4 separate regions of the Homo sapiens genome follow, and all the other regions are linked to region 1. Evidence: promoter capture Hi-C in 16 types of primary human blood cells and fetal thymus (Javierre and others, 2016). All regions are on one chromosome and are shown on one strand. The core of a region is centred on a gene start or on the middle of the fragment in contact, and the rest is flanking DNA. Distances in the headings are between cores, read along the strand shown. Region 1 holds the start of SCAT8 (S-phase cancer associated transcript 8). Region 2 holds the start of LGSN (lengsin, lens protein with glutamine synthetase domain). Region 3 has its middle 56 kb from the start of LGSN. Region 4 has its middle 93 kb from the start of LGSN.

Region 1 (5,286 bases), core at 1,828-4,327:
AAAGTTGAACAGGGCTGACTTGATCTCTTTCTATGTAAAGCTCCCATTCTGTTAGTGAAAACAGACAAGAAACAACTATATTAAAAATAAATAAAAGGATACTAAATTAAAGTAATGGCAATGAAGGAAGTAAATAAGAAGCTGAGGTAGAGAATAACTTGGATGGGGTGGGACAAGACTTACTTTGGTGAAGGTGGCTACAGAAGGCCCTTTTGAGAAAAGATACACTACCGTGTTTATTGAGTACAATGATTTTTTTTCTTTTTCTTTTTCTTGAGACAGAGTTTTGCTCTTGTTGCCCAGGCTGGAGTGCAACACTGCAATCTCGGCTCACTGCAACCTCCGCCTCCTGGGTTCAAGCGATTCTCATGCCTCAGCCTCCCAAGTAGCTAGGATTACAGGTGTGCACCACCATGCCTGGCTAATTTTGTATTTTTAGTAGAGACGGGGTTTCTCCATGTTGGTCAGGCTGCTCTCAAACTCCTGACCTCAGGTGATCCACCCACCTTGGCCTCCCAAAGTGCTGGGATTACAGGCGTGAGTCACCGCGCCTGGCCGAGTCCAACAATATTTTAAGAGCTTCCCATGTATTAAGTTCGTTATTCCTCACAACGCTGTAAGGAAATACACTGTTACTATACTCATTTGATAGGTTAGAAAATAGAGGCACAAAGACATTAAGTAACTTGACACATAATTTGCACATGGTGGAGACTGATTCATGTCTACATCACCAGTCTCTAGAGCCTGCTCCCTTGACCACTATGATAGCTATTTCCTGTCAAGGCTGAGGAAAAAGCATGCACCAAACCTCTGAGACAGGAAAGCACTTGGTGGTTAAGGCACTGGAAGAAGAGCTGTAGGAGAAAAGCACAGAGATAGTGAGAGTGGCCTGGTTGTGTTCAGAGATGCAGACTGGGATCTGATCCTGAAGGCCCTTTGAGAACATGATAAGGAGGTTTGGATTGCATTCTAAGTGCAGTAAAAAGCCACAGATGGGTTTTAAACAAGGTTCAGACATGATCTAATAAACCTTTTAAGAGGCTAACTCTTATTACAATGTGGATAATTAATTGCAGGCAGGAAATCAGTAGGGAGACCAGTCAGGAAGAGGTCATGAGGTTTCAGCATAGGGATGGGGAAGAGATTCAAACAAATTTTGGAGGTAGAATGAATAGTACTTTACATGATAGAGTACCCCATCCTAGCAGACATGGTGGGAGTCTGAAATACCACATTTCATTTGGGGTGTAGGCTCCTTTCAGACATATGCTGATACAGAAAAGAGTGTTTGGTATTAAGAGACAGTCACTGATTGAGTTGAAAAAAACAGAATATGTTATTTACCCTAGCACCGTAGAACCACTGACAGCTGAGAGAAAGGTCTTTTTCTGTTACAATATGTTGATCTCACAGATGAAAACACTGAACTCAGAGAAGTTAGGTGATTAATTGCTTAACTGTTGATTGCAGACTTAAAAGTAAAACATAGGTAATTTTCCTTGACTTAGCACATGCATAACTAGTTTCTACTTAAGAGAGACAAATGTAAGTTATAAGTTGATTTCCCACCAATTCCAGGGCACTAGAGTACTTTGTTACAGGCTGAGTACTTTCTTAATTTCTTGCTCCTTTAATTTAGAATGGTTTTCTTTGAGGGCAACAACCATTTCCATTTTATAACACATGGAAAAATGAGAATTTCCCTTCTCTCTTCAGACATGGAAACAGAAAGAAACAGAGGAAAGGACAAATCAATAAACTTACTTCCCATGTGACTTGGTCACCTTCCCTGTCCTCATGTTTGCCTGTAGGAATTTTTTCTTTTGATTATGAAAGGTAGCTGATATGGTTAGGTTTTGTGTTCCCACGCAAACCTCATCTTGAATTGTAATCCCCATAATCCCCAGGTGTCAAGGGAGAGACCAGGTGGAGGTAATTAAATCATGGGGGTGGTTTTCCTCATGCGTTCTCGTGATAGTGAGTGAGTTCTCAGGAGATCTGATGGTTTTATAAGGAGAAATTCTCCCCTTTACTAGGCACGTCTTCCTGCTGCCTTGTGAAGAAAGTACTCTGCTTCCTCTTCCCCTTCCACCATGCTTGTAAATTTCCGGAGGCCTCCCCAGCCATGCTGAACAGTGAGTCAATTAAACTTCTTTCCTTTGTAAATTACCCAGTCTCTGGCAGTTCTTTACAGCAGCATGAAAACTGACTAATACAGTAGCCCTGATGCAAAGTAGAGCTTCAGAAAGGATCAGGGAACTGCTAAGTACTTTGGACTACAGCGAACATGCTCAAGGCAGAAAACAGGAGGAGGCTGCATCTAGGCAAAGGTCTTTTTTTTACCACAGCCAATTAGAGTGTCCCTGAGGAATCTCTAAAGTATTCTTAAAGGAGCGAGGCAAGTCCTAGAGGGTTCAGTTAATCTTACCATGGCCTTTCTGTCCAGTAAAAAATATCAAGTTATTTTGCAGTGCTGAGTGGTTGTTTGCCAGCTGAAACTTCAGGTGGAATTCATAATGGAAGCTGATGTCTGAGATCCGTGAATAAGCCAGGAATGAGGTGTATCCAAAGGCATCTGTGCCACTGAACCTTGGCTGAGTAATATTAATAGCTGTGAAAAAACCCAAACCAAACAGTTAAAATAAACCTGTACATGTATTTGTAAAGTGAGGGTTACGTTTTGCTGATGCATCTGGCCAGATAGTCTGTTTACTATTACATTAATTATACTTTAGTGCCCTTCAGCATTGAGCAACTAAGTGACTCAACAGGAAATTTCAAAACCAGAACAAAGGAAATGCAGTGTTTTGAGATCTTCTATATAATCCTTTCACTAGCATACTCTTTCTACATAATGGATAATTTACTTAAAAAGCAAACCCCTATATTTTGAAACTTAATTTTAGAAATAGAAAAGATTACTGGCAGCCAAACAAAGTATTTACTCAGGTGCCTCGTAAACATGATTTGGCATCCAAAACCTGGATATGACTTAGAGAGGAGCTCACACCTTTGAACAAACTGTGCTTTTCTAATCCTGCACCTTTATCTGAGCCAAAGCCCCAGGTCAGGGCTAGGAAAGTCAAGAAATAGGAAGGAAATCGGTCAGTTTTCTATCATCATTGGTGAGTGACCAGAGCTTTTCTTTAAGTAAAAATAATTGTCTAAAAGAAATGTTCATTATTTCTTTGCTGAGATGCTTCTTAAGTAATAAAAACATGGAATTCAATTGGTGTGAAAGTGTAGGGAGATTTATTAAAAACAGGAAATGGTAAAATTAGATGAAGTTCAAGGGCCAGTGTGAACAAAATAGAATTTAACTGAGGGTTGCTTCTTGTATCGAACTCTTCTCTTTCATTGTACTGTTTCCTTCATAAGTCTCCACTGGTTTTTTAAATCTCCTTACCCAAAGAGGACAACAGAAAATAGAAAGGGGATTTTGACACCCCATTCCTGTCTTTTATGGATGATGTCACCAGATTAAGGGATGTTCCTAGGATCTATTTTTATTGGTTGGGGACAGCTCGGTTGAGGAAATAAGAGCTTATGTTGTTTCCTTCTCAAGAGATGTTGGAACTCCAGGGAAGCTGTAAAATTAGAATTTTTACAAGCCTTAAGAAATATACTCACTCTGGTATGTAACACTTAAAAGAGCTTCTTATGTCTGTTTATAATTGTGTATACAGCAAATAATTTAGGAAAAATGATGCTTATTATCAAAGGCTTGTATATCTTTGTTTTATATGACTATTAAACTAAGATATTTGTGTGAATAAACTGAATACTTTGTTTTGATATTTTATTAAAATCTTATCAGTTTATTATGACTATTAAACTAAGATATTTGTGTGAAGCTGAATACTTTGTTTTGATATTTTATTAAAATCTTATCAGTTTATTCCCTGGGATGTGTGGCATAGGTTAAATGTAATTTTCTCAAAACTCACCAGAATGTGAAGTAGGGACTTTTGAGACATATTGCTTCTTATACTTATTTTTTAATCTAATGAAAACTTTATAATTTGTGTCCCTGAGATAATAACACTCTCAGGTATATCACTTTCAGTAGTACTATGGGGAGGGTGATTGAGGGAAATGAAATGTACTGGAGTTGAAACAGAATAAAAATACTGACCATCATTCAATGTTGGCATTAAAAACTATGAAAATAGAATTCAGTTAAATTTAATACTAAAATAGAAAAGGAATGACTATCTTTTGCTTTTAATATTTCTTCCTGTTAATAATTTACAACTGAGTCTACCTAAAGGTTACATTTAGGCTAGATTGACAAATACGTATCTCATATATATGGTATTTTACTGTCAGAACCTGTGCTAGATGCTGGTGACACAAAGATAAAAAAGCACTAGTCACTCAAGGGATTAGTGTGAAGTCAATACATTTATTCAGCTGAACTGGACTGAAAGTTGAGGCCTGGTATAAGAACTTTCAGGCAGAAGAAACAGCATGTTCTAGGGTGTGAAGACCAAAACAGCATGTCATACTCAGGGAACTTATGAAGTCTGCAAATTTTAGAATGAAGAAGAAAAGTGAGAGTGGAAGGAAATGAAACAAGATAGACAGTGGTCAAATCATGAAGAACTATATATTTTCTTTATTATCCTAAAGTAGTTGGGCAATGATCAAAGTTGCTTTTTAGAAATATTATTCTGTTGATGAAGTGTGAATCATAGATTAGACAGAGAGCTGGAGGACCAAACTTTGGTCAAGGATGAAAATAAGAACTTTGATATCAAGAAATCTAACAATGAATTAAGCTTATGCAGAAATCTAAATGTAAGGCAATTTATGAGTAACTCATTAAGGCAATGGTGTGATATTTAAACAGCTAATGGAAATACATTATCAGTGCAATTTCATGATATAATTTTTACTATCAAAAATAAGTACTTTTGAAGTTTGAGAATAATAATGAAGACTGATGATAACCATGACCCATAGGAATGGATCTGTCAAATGCTCAGCATTTCTTAGTCTAGTGGTACCTGCAGCTGTTGAGCATTTGAATTGTGGTTAGGCCTGTGTGGGAAGGGCTCAGTATGAAACAAAGAATGTAAAATATATTATTAATAACATTCCCATATCCGTTAAACATTGGGTTAAATAAAATATATTACTAAAATAAATTTCACCTGTTTCTTTTAACTTTGAAAAATGTCGCTACTAGAAAACAAAATGACATAGGCAGCTCACATTCTATTTCTATTGAATGGCAACGCAGAGAGATCCAAGCATGTTTTGATAGGTTAAGTTCTTCCT
Region 2 (5,286 bases), core at 904-3,403, 480 kb before region 1:
ATGAGCTTTCCTAGATGAATATTTTGAATTGTTTAGTTTTTATTATCTTTATAAATTCACTGTGTAGTACAGAAGGGCAATTCTTCATAAACTTCTCCTGAGTGGACATATAACAAGTATAATTATGCTGCCCTTATTCTTACTGGCATTCAAATAATTGACATTTTTTAAAAAGATTTACTGTCAATATTTTGGTTAAAAACATTTTAATGATTAGCTTCATACCTCCTGCAGAAGGTCCTCTTCATTATTCATCTCAACACTTTTTAAGTTCAGCGTTAGAAACCACAATATCCTCAACAAATGCATTCAACATGTATTTATATGTGTACCTACAACAAAGACTGCAGATGATGAATTCCATAGAGGCTTTTCCAGAGGGGTCTGGCAGGTAATAAAAGATAAACATCAGATTCTGATGTGTCATGCCCAAGGCACAGTATGCTGGAAATGCACTAGAAGAATCGAATGACAAATGCTTGTTTACGCCTGACTCCCTGCAAACAAAAGACATACAAAGCTTAAAATTGTGTTGGTTGATTTTTTTCTCCAACATACAGAATTTTTGTTACATAACAATTGTATTCTGGAATGATATCTATTGTCAGATTCAGATGATGAAACACTTATTAGACGACTATGCTATCAAAGCCCACAGACAAAAGCACAGATGGAAAAATACAGCTATAAGTGACCCAGATTTTTACCAATGGCAAAGATCCACTCATTTGTAATTCTCATTTTTATTTTCTTTTCTAGGTCCCTCTGGCCTCCAAATTAATTCTGGACCTTCATTATAAAACTGAAATATCTTTCTTTAGCTTTTCCAATTCTCCGATGTCAGTCTGTGACAAATCCCAGACCATCCCCACTGTGCACAATGAACACAGAATCATCTACAGGCTGCCCCATATGGTCCCATAAACAATCCTAACTCAGTAGAGGAAATAGGGAATGCTTTCTCTTCACTAGTAAAGGGGGTTTGAAATCACACTTCTGCTGCTATCAACTCAACTTCAAGTATTGTTGATGAAGGAGGATATGCAGTTTCTTCTGAACCAAACCAAATTCTCTCTAAGCATTTTCCATGTGGAAGTGTATAGTCTCCATGGCTAATCACTTCTTCCTGGTCTTCTGGGCCTGAGGAAGACCAAGCCAATACTTACAACCACTCAATCCTGCCTGACTCTCTTGGCCCATTTCAAAAGCCCCATTTCCTAAAGACAGTGATTAACTATTCCTATTTCCATTCCATTGGTACTTGTTCCATGACTGACTCTAAAGCTTCTGCTCTGTGTAGCCTGATCTACAACCAGATCTTGAATTTGGACCTAGTTCTGATGCTGATGCCAGCCTGAAACTGCATCCTGAATATGGCTGTTTTGGACTCTTGAACCTCCCCAAGAAAAGGGATTCTATCTCCTATCCTAGTATTTGACTTGCTCTTGGTGCTTTCCCCCAGATCTCTAGTAGGGTGTTTAATTCCCACAATGTCTTGTACCAGAGCCTTACCTAAGTTTTTCTCAATCCTCTTCTGAGACCACATTTGCTTCCACTTTTACAACTTTTTCTTGCATGTGCTTGTCTCCATGCAAAACAGGTGCCATTGAGCTATGGAAAAAAATGTTTTGTGAAAAATTTCGTTTTTGTTTCAGAAATGTTCCCTTTCCTATATCAAAGAAAAGAACTCCAAGCTGGTTTACATGTTCAGTTACATATTGGGACATGTTTTAAAAAAATCATTCCTTTATAGTACTACTTACCCAAATTTTCTCCTGGGAGTTTTATTGTTATTGAATATGCAATTTGATTCATTTCATCTTCTTTTCCTTACCTTATTTTGACAATCTCTTCTTCTCAATGTGTATCCATGATTTTTTTATAATATCCTTTCCTGAACCTTGATTTGCCCATTTTTGTAAAAAGTGTTCTAAAGCTTGGTTGGACATATGGTGTATAACCTAATTTATGGTATTAGCATGATACATATTTTAAAAGTATTACCATTATTTAGAATCAGTTTTTCCAAAGGAAAAACCAAATGTCAGTAAAGGGCTTAACAAATAGATTAGAAAAATAATAAATGGTCAATAAGTCCATATTAAACACTTTCATTCACAAGCATTTGTTCAATCTGTACTATATCCAGAAAGCTATCTTAGTCAAAATGAATATAGTCATTGAGCCATGAATGTAAATGATACAAGTCTTTCTCTTACCACTCTTCTGAGACAACATATGGAAAGACCGTTCAACTCAAGTACTTCTCCTGCCAAAAAGTTGTAATCTAATTGAATGGATCCAGAGAAGAGTAACTAAAATGATTAAAGGAATTATGGGATTCATTTCATGAGAACAGATTGCAGAAGCTAAAGCTTACTAAGTACCAACAAGGGGAAACAATATGTTGTTTACCACTAAGTTACTGCCTTCTGATGAATTATTGAACAGGATTGGAAGAGCAAAGGATGCAAATTAGGTAAAGGATTAAATCTATTCTTTCACTGTGGGAGAAAATGAAATCACAATGAATCTGTTTTTGTTTCATGTTTACATATATTATATGTTACAGTACAGTGTATAAAATACAAAGTTCTTGTCTTCCCAGCACTAACTGATAAGGAAATAGGGTGAAAACATGCCCAATGAGACCAAGGGAATAACTGACTTGTGAGAATAATAGCCAAGTTCAGTGAAGGAAATAATCTTTCTTATGACCTTCATGAATCACAAAAATATGGTTTCAGGTCAGCATAAGAACATAACAACCACGACAGAAGGATACTTCCACCCTACCTTTCTCCCGATTTGTTGTTGTTCTAGAAGCTGCATGGGTTTGTTCCTCCTTTATATGCATCTAATTATGACATACCTAACAGGAAGACTACATTGACACCCTTTATTGAAGATAACATCATACAAAAATTATAAGGAGTAATATTTGAGCTTCCCTAGTGGTTCTAGAACTCCTGTTCACAAAGGCCCCCAAAAGTTCCTTTCATGAATCCAGTCCCCATTTCTTTTCAGTTCTTCCCAGAAATACCTCATTTTCTAAGAAAATGGTAGATCTGTTTACAGAATTAAGATTTAAAACCGATGATTAAAAAATATTGGAGTGAGGACAGGTAGAAAATCAGTGAATTCAGGGCTGAGCGGAAACACACATTGGCAGGGAAACTGAAGAATATTTTTGTGTGTCCTTTTCATTTGTTTCAGAAAGGGAATTTCTCCTCTCATCTGCCCCTTCGATAAACCTAAGTAAGCAATGAGTAGAAAACAGCGTAACTCCCTGAAAAAAATTATTTTGTAAAGTTGATACAATTTAAAACTAGTTTAAAATCATTTTAATTTAGCATTTTCAATGATTTTCACATATCCTTAAGCATTTATATATTTAGCACAAGCTTCATAAAGTTAAATGAAGTCAGTTGTGAAAGTGGAAGCATGAAATTCTGAATTCCAAGGCACATAAGGAGCTTGCAATCACATATAATAAGTTAAAAATTATTCCAAAACAGCCCAAGCTATTTTTAGAAGGAGAGTGCCACAGAATACATTTCTTTTTATTTGTAAGATTTATGGAGTCCAGGTGCAGTTTTGTTACATGAATATAGTGCATAGTGGTGAAGTCTTGGCTTTTAGTGTAGCCATCACCGGAATAGTATACATTGTACCTGTTAAGTAATTTCTCATCACTCATCCCACTCCACCCTTTTGAGTCTCTACTGTCTATTCACAGAAGACATTTTTATAACACCATTAATTTTAAAAAATTGGTAGCTGGTGTTGTCCTTGTTTCCTTCTTTTAATGGCATCATTCTACTTATTGTGATAATATCTACAAATTCTTGAGAGCACCAAAACCTCATATACACACACACACACACACACACACACACACACACACACACACACACAGGTTATGTTAATCAATATTAGCATATTTAAAAATATAATAATAATGGGCATTGTACATATTAACATAAATAGCATTTTTTATAGAAAATTGATTTCTTATTTTCACAAATTGCTCTAATGTCTAGCTTAAGAGAAAAACCACTGGAATCTCGTATGTTTTTGCATTCTTTTTTTTTTTTTTTTTGAAACACAGTCTGCTCTGTCACCCAGACTGGAGTGCAGTGGTGCGATCTGGGCTCACTGCAACCTCCGCCTCCCGGGTTCAAGCAATTCTCCTGCCTCAGCCTCCCAGATAGCTGGGATTACAGGCACCCGCCACCACACCTGGATAACTTTTAGTATTTTTAGTAGAGACAGGGTTTCGCCATGTTGGCCAGGCTGGTCTGGAACTCCTGACCTCAGGTGATCCACCTGCCTCAGCCTCCCAAAGTGCTGGATGACAGGCGTGAGCCACCGCTTCCGGCTTGCATTTATTCTTTTGATACAGCCCATGTCATGCAACCTCTGGAAAACTTCACTATACACTAATGCTAGATGAGAATGAAAAGGCAAATAGAGTCTTACCATTACTGTGAAAATAATTTTGACCTCACAGTCTCCTCAAAGGTTCTTGGAATCCCTAGGGGTCCCTGAACCATACTTTCAGAACTGCTGCTGTAGTGAAACAACCAGCAGATTAAAGACTTGAGTTCTATAGGAAACACTGTTTTTTAAAGACATATCACATAGTTTTCTTGATAACAGTTTCCTTTTGTGCAAAATGTGGTTTAGGGCAAGATGATCTCAGGTTTCTCTTAACTCTGTTCTGTGATTGTGTAAGATATTAAATGAATTTTATAAAACAACTGAGAATACACATTGTCTTCATGAGCACATGGAATATTCTCCAGGACAGACTATATGTTAGGACACAAAACAAGTCTAAACAAACTTTTAAAAATTAAAATTATATCAAGTGTTTTATCAGACTCCAATTAAATAAAACTAAAAATCAACATCAAGAGGAACTTTGGAAACTCTACAAATACATGCAAATTAAACAACATGCTCCTGAATGGTCACTGGGTCAATGAAGAAATTGAGAAGAAAATAAAAAAAAATTTTTTGGAAACAAATGAAAATAGAAAAACTACATACCAAAATGTGTGGGGTACAGCAAAAGCTCTGCTAAGAGGGAAGTTGATAGCAATAAACACCTACATAAAAAAAAAAAACAGGAGGCTGCACATGGTGGCTCATGCCTGTAATCCCAGCACTCTGGGAGGCCGAGGCGGTCACATCACAAATTCAGGAGATCAAGACTATCCTGGCCAACATGGTGAAACCCCGTCCCTACTAAAAACACAAAAATTAGCTGGGCGTGGTTGA
Region 3 (5,286 bases), core at 1,270-3,769, 430 kb before region 1:
ACAATCAGAAGGCTGAGGCACGAGAATGGCTTGAACCCAGGAGCTGGAGGTTGCAGTGAGCCAAGATGGGGCCACTGCACTCCAGCCTGGGTAACAGACAGAGCGAGACTCTGTCTCAAAAAAGGCCAGGGTGGGGTGGCGGGGGAGTGGCATCCATGGGACAATTGACAAAATTGGAATGTCTAGATAAGAATATTTCATCAATGCTAATGGACTAATTTTGATGTCTGTACTATGGTTATGTTAGAAAATGACCTTATTTTTAGAATATACACATTGAAGTATAGTATTATTTAGGTGTAAAGGGCATTGTGTCTGCATGCCCGAAACTTACTCTCAAATTATTCAGAAAAAAAAACACCAATATATATTACTTAGATACAGATAGAATGGTAAAACAAAATGTGGCAAAATGTTATCTTTGATGCAAATTATTTGCATCATTTTTTTCTGAAAGTAGGCAATTATTTCAAAACAAAATGGTTTCAATAGAGCGCCATGATATTTTTCTGACATTTTCTTTGAAATAGTTGATACTCCTTCTGCAAATTTTGTTGACAGTGCTTCTAGGTTCCAAAAAGAAGGGTAACGCCACTACAGCACCTTTGCCATCTGACCAGCAGCAATTCTAAGATGTCATTGATTCTAAGATGCATCTCAATTCCCAAGATGTTAAAATGAACAAAATACATCACTTAGGATCATAAACACATTTTAGTTGGAATAGACACATTTGAAGACCAGATTTGAACAATGATCCTCCCATTTAGTATCAACATTAGTTTACTACTGCCACTGTAACAAATTAACACAAATGTAATGGCTTAAAACAAGACAAAAGTGTTGTCTTATGGTTTTGGAAGTCAGTTCAAAATGGATCCACAGGGAGGCTGGAAAGTAAAATGGTTTTTCTTGTCTTCCCCAGCTTCTAGAGGCTGCTTGCATCCTTGGCATGAGGCCCCTTTCCGTTATTGTCTTCCACAGTATCCCTGATAACAAAACCTACACCTAGCTCAGGTATTACATGTGCTACTCCTGAACATCTCCATCTCTTGCTTAAGGAAATATTGCTGTGCAAGTACAGTCTTGTAATAAAAGGAAATTGTGACTGGAAAAGAGAAAAAAAAAAGTTGCTGATAATAAACATGTTAGGAAAACCTGATCTTGGGAAGACAGTTTGACATTTTGACACAAATGTTTCCTAATTATCATGGGAACTCTGTTTAGGCTATAAGACTCTATTGTTATTGATGTCATTGTTGATTTTCCGGGGCAATAAGAAAACATGTTATCAAGAATTAATTCCGTTTTTGTTTTTTAATCATTTTCTTTTTTAACCATTGACTGAGAGATACAAATTCTAGAAATTAAGGAATTCCAGAATTTTAAAATTGGGTTAAATATATCCAGAGCTGATAAAAAGCAGTATAGAGTGGCCAAAAGAATACATTATTGGTGGTCCTCATAATCAATTTGACTTTCTGTAATTGTATTAAATTAATTCTTACACATACATATATGTATATATTAGAAGAGTGCTTGACAACAATTGTATAAGTGTTAGCTATTATTACTATATATTTATATTTATATTATTATATAGCAATTATGATCTTTCTTGGCAAATATTACTACTAGTTTGCACTGAAATTGCAAGAAAAGCTGGATCATAAATGGAAACATTTTTTATTCAGATTCCCTAGGTTGATATATGAAGCAAAATATGAAAACACTTATTTATGTGGATATGTATATATTCGTCTGTACTCACCATCTACTTTATTAGTTGTTGGAGAGATTAGAGAGTAATGCATTTAAGGCAGTTTGCCTTTGGCTGGTACATTATTTTTAATAATAGGTTTTATTATTTCTCAACTTTAAGAAACTTTTTAAAGGGTCAAGATAATGCTGAGTTTGGAAATGAGATAAGAAAAACAAGAGAGAAAGATAGCATGTTAGGAAGTGAGTAGAAAATTACTTCCTTTAAGTGAGATAATTCCCTAATCAAAAATATTGCCTATGATATTGATAATAATTGCTAATGTTTTTTGAGCATATACTATGTTGTAGGTATCATGATAATCACTTTCTACATATTATCTTGTTTGGTCCTTAGAACCAAATGAAGTGAATGTTGTATTATCTTTATTTTGCCTAGGGATTAAGTAATTTTCTTAATGTCACAAATTAAATATAATAGTACTGAATGATATCAAACCCAAGCAGTCCAAACCCGTTCTAACACACTGCTATGCTCTCTCCACGATATATGATTCTTTACTCCACAGACCTTACTTCATACCAGATTATTTTGCCCATGTTCCCCCGATGCTTGCTAATTGCGCTTACATTTTCTGTGTTTTGTCTCTCTAACCATTCCTACACTCTTCAAAGGCAGAGAAAAAGCTTTCTATTTCTTTTTTACTTAACCCAAAAGCTTATTAAGGGCAGAACACAGAACGTTTCTGAAGAAACACCCTGGGCTCACAGCAGAGAGCAATGCAGATAATAAACACCAGGAGTACTATCTAAAACCTAAGAAACATCAAAATTATACCCTTTCCTCACTTTTCTTAATCAATACTTTCTATTTATTCAGAGCCAAGCTTACAAAGGGTAAAGATTGCCTTGATGAAGAGCAAGCCCTCTGTCTACTGATGCTGACATCTAGAAAAATCACTATGCTCAGATTCAATATTCTGCACTATAGCTCCCTAATAGACTCAAACAAATGGCAATGGATACACTCAGCCTTTTCTGAGCTTCTAGAAAACATTCACCTATTGCATTTCTCTTTAACTTCTTTTTTAATTATCTGACTGCCTCTTACCTGAGCCCAGTAGAATTTTAAATATGAGAAAGGAATCATCAGAGAATAGGCTTAAAATGAAAAAAGGAAATAGGAAATTGTATTTTATTTGACTTTTTAAAACTCATCTACTTTCAGATTGAGTCAGTTTGCTAGCTAAAACAAGATTTTGGGGTGAATAACTTTTACTAGAACATACAAAGTGCATTTTAACAATGGTCTACATTCACAAGTGGCCACTATTCTTGTCCAAACACAATTCAGCTGAGTGTTCCTAGGCTTCCAAACCCAGAACAAAGCAGAACAAAAGAAAAATATAGTATTTGAAGTGCCTTGCTTGTGCTTTTCTAATCTAAACAGACTGCTCCCATATTAAGAAAATTACTTTAGGTGCAAATGATACCTCAAAAAGAAGTAGATAGATATGCACTGATTCTTTTTGACATTATAATTTATAGCTTAAATTAATTTTAGACTAATTTTCCTCTTACTTAGAGCAAAATATTGCTAAGGGAACAGCCTGTCTTCATCTGACTTATAGTAAACATTTGCCACTTAGTATTCTGAAACCAGCTGGCTTTTTTAATCTTTGGCAATAGACGCTAACGTATCCTTTATGAATTATGGCAAGCCAATAGGCAGAGAGCAACCCAGAAGGTGTAAGAGGTCTAACAATCAACCAGGCAATAGAATGGGGGTTGGTAACCATCAACTGCATGCCCTGAAGGCAAATTTTCCACAGCTTTCCAGATGCTGCCATGCTGCCTCCCTCACTCCACCTTTTGCCCCAGCTCTCCAAACTCAGCCCTGGGGAGTTGGTTCATTCAATCCTTCAAAGAAGTGCAAGGATAAAGAAGCAGGAAACTAATTACCTCATGGTGTGATAAGTGCAGGATAATTCTATAGAAAGAACACCTAACGTAAACCTAGAAGATCAAAATAAGCTTCCCAGAGAAAGTGATGTTCTGACCAAGAAGAGAAGAAAAGAGTTAGACACTTGGGCCAGGCACGGTGGCTCACACCTGTAATCCCAGCACTTTGGGAAGCCGAGGCAGGAGGATCACTTAAGGTCAGGAGTTTGAGACCAGCCTGGCCAACATGATGAAACCCCATCTCTACCAAAAATACAAAAAATTATCAGGGCGTGGTGGTGTGCGCCTCTAGTCCCAGCTACTCAGGAGGCTGAGGCAGGAGAATCGCTTGAACCCGGGAGGTGGAGGTCGCAGTGAGCCGAGATCGTGCCATTGCACTCCAGCCTGGGCGACAGAGAGAGACTCCATCTCAAAAAAAAAAAAAAAAAAAAAAGAAAAGAAAAAGGATGAATAACAAGAAAGAAAAACAGCCTTATTGCTGATATGGAGAAAGGTTTTAGTGGTCTAGGTAGAAGATTAAACCAGATTTTTGAAAAAAAAAAAAAAAAAGAAAAAGAGACACTTGAAGAAGAGATGGAAAAGCAATCTAGAAAGAGAAAAGTATTTGCAAAGGATGACAGGTAAGCATGACCAAGGAACTGAAAGAATTTCAGTTTAGCTGCAGCATCTAATGAACACAAACGCTTAGGGATCTAGAGTAATGGAGACAACATCTCATATCCGCAACAATAGAAACATCTGGCTTTCTTGATCACCACAGCAGGGGAACAGACATCTGAATGACTTTTATATACTTCAGTCTAGAAGTGACACACATCACTTCTACCCACAGCCTATTGGTTAGCACTAGTCATATGCTTCTCCCACCCCACCCCCAAAATTATAATGACCTAGAAAAGTAGGGGCAGATGTAATGTTTAATGCATACCACTGTCTCAGGTATAGGCATGATATTAATGGCTGTCTTACTCTATTTGTGTTGCTATGAAGGAATATCTGAGGCTGAGTAATTTATAAAGAAAATAGGTTTATTTGGCTCATAGTTCTGCAGACTGTACAGGAAGCATGGCACCAGCATTGGCTTCAGGCCACTTCCACTCATGGGGAAGGCAACGGAAAGGCACATGCACAGAGATCACACGTGAGAGAGGAGGCAAGAGACAAAAAGGAGGGAGATGCCAGGCTCTTTTTGAATAACCAACTCTTTGGGAACTAATAAGAGTGAGAACTCACACAACCCCACCCCATGCTGACAGAGCATTAATCTATTCATGAGAGATATGCCCCATGACCCCAACACCTCTCACAGTCCCCGCCTCTGACACTAGGAATCAATTTCAACATGTGATTTGGGGGACAATATTCAAACTATAGCAATTACTTTGTAAGTCATGTTTAAGCAGTTTGCTTTATTCTGAGGGTATCAAAGAGCCAATAAAGAATTTTAAGCAAGATAATTAAAGGACTGGATTTAGAACTTTTTGCAGCTCGGCAGGGTTTCCTCCCCTATTACTTCTCCTCACCTCTAAGTGGATAGGCAGTCTTTCAGAAAGCTATCCATGGAAATGATGCTGTTAACAAATATGAGATAGTTAAAATCAACAG
Region 4 (5,286 bases), core at 1,920-4,419, 390 kb before region 1:
TTGGGCACTTAATAGGTGTTGAAACAATTTTGGTGGACTTGAGTAGCACAGAAAAAGCTCATGAAATCTTAATGACCCCACATGCTGGTAAATGGTTGCTGCCTCATGCTCCAAACATACCACTTCCTCAGGTCAAAACCAGTTTTTTTCCAATTCCTAAGCAACGAGGTTTGGCATAAAGCTAGGCCAGAAATGTCAGTACAGGCTATTTCTTGGGGATATTTAGAGACACCTACTGAGTTAGTAGGAAATGTAAATTGTGCCTAAATTTATCAGGATTATTTCTCAGACACACAACTACAGTTCATCTCATCTCCAAAGTAGCCTCAGGACTCCAGAAATACTCCAAGGGCCTCTTCCTAAAATTGACTAGAAATTTTGCCAGCTCTCTAAAGAATAATATTGACTGTCCCAAAGATCTCTTGGTCAAAGTCTATATTCGTGATTTGGAATTTTCCCAAGCACCAGGAATTACGCTGTGAGCTAACATTTACGCAGACATTCTCCCAGTTACTTTCAGTTTTCGGTTTTGTTAGTTATCAAGTAAAGGGGATAGCAGGTAAGGAGAAAGTAGGCAAGGGCATCAGAGATAAGTTACACTAGGACATAGCCTTGGCTTGTGTGTCATCTTCTTTCTACATGCCATATCTCCTCCATTACTGAATTTTAAGATCTGTCCTTGAAGACAGAGACTTGATCTATAGTTCTATTGCGCTGCTCACACTATTAATGGTAATAATAATAAAATTAATTTTTATTGAGGCCTTATGAAGTGCTTAATATTGTGCTAAGGCCAGGCATGGTGGCTACACCTGTAATCCGAGTACTTTGGGAGGCCGAGAAGGGAGGATCCTTTGAGCCCAGGAGTTTGAGCTAACCAAGACAACATGGTCAGACTCTGAGTCTACAAAAAATAAAAAATATTAGCTGGATGTGGTGGTGTGCACCTGTAGTCCCAGCTACTCAGGATGTTGAAGCACAAGAATCCCTTGGGCCCAGGCTGAGGTTGGTTGGGGCTGCACTGAGTCATGATGGTCCCCCTGCACTCCAGCCTGGGTGACAGAGTGAGACCCTGTCTCAAAAAAGAAAAAAAATTGTGCTAAAATACTTAAGCACTATCAAATGTGCAAGTATTCAATGAACATTTCGCAATTAAAAACTCTAAAATAAAATATCTTATGTAGAAATATTTCTGGGTAAGCAAACAAAACAAGTAGAAATAAAATGAGTTTTTATTTCTTCTTATACTAAAGGTAAAGAGAAAAACTTAAAATAGTGAATTTTCAGGATTGTTTTTAGAGACTTGAAATGAGGGCAGGTCGGGCAAAGTGGCTTACGCCTGTAATCCCAGCACTTTGGGAAGCTGAGGTGGGCAGATCACTTGAGGTCAGGAGTTCGAGACCAGCCTGGCCAACACGGCAAAACCCTGTGTCTTCTAAAAATACAAAAATGAGCCGGACATGGTGGCAGAAGCCTGTAATCCCAGCTACTCAGGCAGCTGAGGCAGGAGAATCACTTGAACCCAGGAGGCGGAGGTTGCAGTGAACTGAGATCGCCCCACTGCACTCTGGCCTGGGCAACAGAGCAAGACTCCATCAAGAAAGGAAAGAAAGAAAGAGAGATGAAAGAAGGAAAGAAAGAAAGAAAGAAGAAAGAAAGAAAGAAAGAAAGAAAGCAAGAAAGAAAGAAAGAAAGAAAAAGAGAGAGAAGAAAGAGAAGAAAGAAAGAAAGAAAGAAAGAAAGAAAGAAAGAAAGAAAGAAGGAAAGAAAGAAAGAAAGAAAGAAAGAAAGAAAGAAAGAAAGGAAGGAAGGAAAGAAAGAGGCAAAGAAAGAGGGAAAGAAAGGGAAAGGGAAAGAAGGGAAAGAAAGGGAAGGAAGGGAAGGAAGGGAAGGAAAGGAAGGAAAGGAAGAAAGAAAGAAAGAGAAAGAAAGAAAGAAAGAGGGAAGGAAGGAAAGAAAGAAAGAAAGAAAGAAAGAAAGAAAGAAAGAAAGAAAGAAAGAAAGGAAGGAAGGGAAGGAAGGAAAGAAAGGAAAGAAGGAAGGAAGGAAAGGAAGGAAAGGAAAGGAAGGAAGAAAGGAAGGAAGGGAGAGAGAGAGTAAGAGAAAGAGAAAGAAAGAGGGAGAGAAAGAGAGAGAGAGAAAGGAAGGAAGAAAGGAAGGAAGGAAGAAAGGAAGAGAGAAGGAAAGAAAGAGAAAAGAAAAGAAATGAGGGCAAGTTAGAAAGAAGAAATTGATCATAAAATCATGTGCTAAAATAAGTCAATAAGGTGAGAACAATACATGGGGTATCATAATCCCTATAAACCATTATACAAATCCTGAAAAAGTAAAAACAGTTTCTGAATTAAACTACCAGTGTTGAACACTCATATTAATAAAATGTAAAGCAACACCATACATTACAGAGGTTATGGATTATCATGGAGATCTGTATAATTAATAATAATCTATTATTATTTGACATGTAATTTTAGAGACACCATTGAAGCTTTACAAAATGAACTCTAAATGCAATTTCATTTCAACCAAGGAAACTGATAATCAAGAATAGTTATATTCTTTTCCTAAATTTATAAAACTTTTCTTCTAAGAAATGGATACACAATATTATGAAATTAATTTAAAAAGAAAGATTGGCTGACATTTATTACATAAATGGTTGTTTCTCCTAATATCTAATTTTTACTCCTCTCTTACTTAACAGATTTGTGACTGATGACATTGCTTTATGAATAGCATAAGCCCTGTTTTAACTAAGTGGATCATTGGGCTAGAAATAGAGATTCCTGTGCTGTATTTCTAGCTCTGAGTAGTTCTGTGACCTTAGGCAAACTTCTCAGCAGGAATCTCAAATTATCCTAATTAAAACTAAAATGTCATTTTCCACCCACTATATGTATTGCACAAAGGTTGTGACATGATTATCCCTCTTTTTACAAATAATTGAGTTACTTCATATAAAGGTAAAATGCCATAAAATTATTTCTACATTAATGTCATATTTAATAATCTGAAATGATTTTGCCTTAATAGGATAAGATAGTAAGTGCAAACAGAATAGAGTTCCGATTATCCTTTAAAGTTAGTAATTATTGTTAGAATATATACTAGCTTTCATGTGTATATATATAATTCATTTATATTCAACTAAATCACCATGGCTATCTTGAATATTAGAGGCAAGAGGATTCATTATTATATTCACCAATATATTCAGTATTGGTGGCTGTTATTAAAGGCTTGTAATTAATAGGGGGCCAGTCGAGAAGAGTGGCCACTGGAATCACAAACACTGTACTTCCTCTCCCATGTTCTGCTTCATAACTATGATCAAGTCACAACATCTTAGCCTCAAGACATGAAGATAATAATACTGTCTTAATTTTGTTTTGTTTTGTTTTGTTTCAGGAGAGCTAAATGGGCTGCTGGGTATAAACTATGTGGCACAGGGCCTGATGCACCTGAGGTGCCAAAAAAAAAATATTAGTCTTTATTCTTTCAAGAAATCCTATGAGATCCTTGATATTTTTGTTGTCACATACATCTGTAAAATATCCCCCCATTTCCTTGAGAACCTGTCGTTCAATAAGTATAAAGTTTCAGTTTTGTTAGATGAAAAAGTGCTATACATCATAATGTATATAATATTGTAGTCTTCAAAATTCTTAAGAGAGTAGATATGTATTCTTTAGAAAAAAACCCAAAGGGACACAATGAAACTTTAGGAGGTGTTGATTATGTCTATTACCTTGATTATGGTAATGCTATTACCAGTGTTTGCATATGCACAAACTAATAAAATTGTACATATTAAATATGTGCAGCTTTTTATATATCAATTATACCTTAATAAAGCTTTAAAAAAATAGAAAATGTGCTGGGCGCGATGGCGCGTGCCTGTAATCCCAACACTTTCAGAGGCAGTTCACTTGAGCTCAGGAATTCAAGACCAGCCTGGGCAACATGGCCAAATCCCATTTCTACAAAATATACAAAAATTAGCCTTGTGTGGTGGTGTGGGCCTGTAGTCCCAGCTACTCAGGAGGCTGAGGTGGAAGGATTGCTTGAGCCTGGGAGGCAGAGGTTGCAGTGAGCCAAGGTTATGCCACTACACTCCAGCTTGGGCAACAGAGCCAGACGCCCTTTAAAAAAAATTAAATTAAAAATGAAAACTTTAAAAATTTAAAAATGGAGACTTTTTAAAATAAAGAATAAAATAAAATATCCCCCTCAATTAGTTCATTTTCATACTGCTATAAAGAACTGCCCACAGGGCACAGTGGGACGCGCCTGTAATTCCAACACTTTGGGAGGCTGAGGCAGGTGGATCACCTAGGAGGTCAGGAGTTCGAGATCAGCCTGAGCAACATGGAGAAACCCTGAAACCCTGTCTGTAATAAAAATACAACCAGGCATGCTAGTATGCACCTGTAATCCCAGCTACTCAGGAGGCTGAGGTAGGAGAATCTCTTGAACCCTTGAGGCGGAGTTTGCGGTGAGCTGAGATTGAGACACTGTACTTCAGCCTGGGAAACAGAGGGAGACTCCATTTCAAAAAATAAAAAATAAAAATAACTGCCCAAGACTGGGTAATTTATAAAGGAAAAAAGTTTAATTGACTCACAGTTCAGCATGGCTGGAGAGGCCTTAGGAAACTTACAATTATAGTGGAAGGCAAAGGGGAAGCAAGGCACCTTCTTCACAAGGCAGCAGAAAGGAGAAGTGCCGAGGGAAGGGGAAAGAGCCCCTGACAAAACCATCAAATCTTATAAGAACTCACTATCATGAGAATGGCATGGGCGAAAGCGCCCTCATGATCCAATTATTTCTACCTGGTCTCTCCCTTGACTCGTGGGAATTATGGGGATTATGAGGACTATAATTCAAGGTGAGGTTTGAGTGGGGACAGAAAGCCTAACCATATCAACCCTCATTTCTTGAGATAGCTAGAGCGACTTCCACTGCCTAAAAGTCAAAAGAGCTTCTCCAATCATTATGCTTTGCTACTTCATGAAGTTCTAAATTGTTGATGCATTTTACTTTGCACATTTTCATTCGGTACTCCCATAGATGTTGAGTAGGTAGCGTTATGTGAACTCTCTTTAGATTCACCCGGGCATTTATTATTCTTACATCTAATACCATCAAATACATGGAGAATGCATGCATTGGGAGGAGGCCATTCATTGATCTAATAGATTAAATAAAATAAAACATCCAAAATGAAGCAAAAGGTCCTTATTCCCTGTTTTCCTGACCATTGAGAAGAGAAGACAGCTCATAAAC

The links. The method cuts DNA at HindIII sites, captures the fragments that hold promoters and counts their contacts. A CHiCAGO score of 5 or more calls a contact.
Region 2: a fragment that was not itself captured here is called in contact with the fragment with the promoter of SCAT8 in region 1 in 6 of 17 cell types (M0 macrophages, M2 macrophages, M1 macrophages and 3 more); the score reaches 10.5 in M0 macrophages.
Region 3: a fragment that was not itself captured here is called in contact with the fragment with the promoter of SCAT8 in region 1 in 5 of 17 cell types (M1 macrophages, M2 macrophages, endothelial precursors and 2 more); the score reaches 6.4 in M1 macrophages.
Region 4: a fragment that was not itself captured here is called in contact with the fragment with the promoter of SCAT8 in region 1 in 1 of 17 cell types (monocytes); the score reaches 7.0 in monocytes.

What each region holds. Positions count from the first base shown.
Region 1 is chr6:63,803,759-63,809,044 of GRCh38, forward strand. It overlaps SCAT8 (S-phase cancer associated transcript 8), which reads left to right and starts at 3,078. Exons shown (of 2, transcript NR_157848.1): 1 at 3,078-3,128. It overlaps EYS (eyes shut homolog), which reads right to left. Exons shown (of 43, transcript NM_001142800.2): 37 at 2,432-2,614. The HindIII fragment of the contact is 5,141 bases long and covers 1-4,782 here.
Region 2 is chr6:63,319,689-63,324,974 of GRCh38, forward strand. LGSN (lengsin, lens protein with glutamine synthetase domain) reads right to left here and starts at 295. Exons shown (of 4, transcript NM_016571.3): 1 at 226-295. The coding sequence starts at 255. The HindIII fragment of the contact is 439 bases long and covers 1,935-2,373 here.
Region 3 is chr6:63,373,822-63,379,107 of GRCh38, forward strand. It overlaps a transcript of LGSN not described here. Among named protein-coding and RNA genes, the nearest start is that of LGSN, 56 kb to the left of the region's middle. The HindIII fragment of the contact is 169 bases long and covers 2,436-2,604 here.
Region 4 is chr6:63,410,768-63,416,053 of GRCh38, forward strand. It overlaps a transcript of LGSN not described here. Among named protein-coding and RNA genes, the nearest start is that of LGSN, 93 kb to the left of the region's middle. The HindIII fragment of the contact is 1,367 bases long and covers 2,487-3,853 here.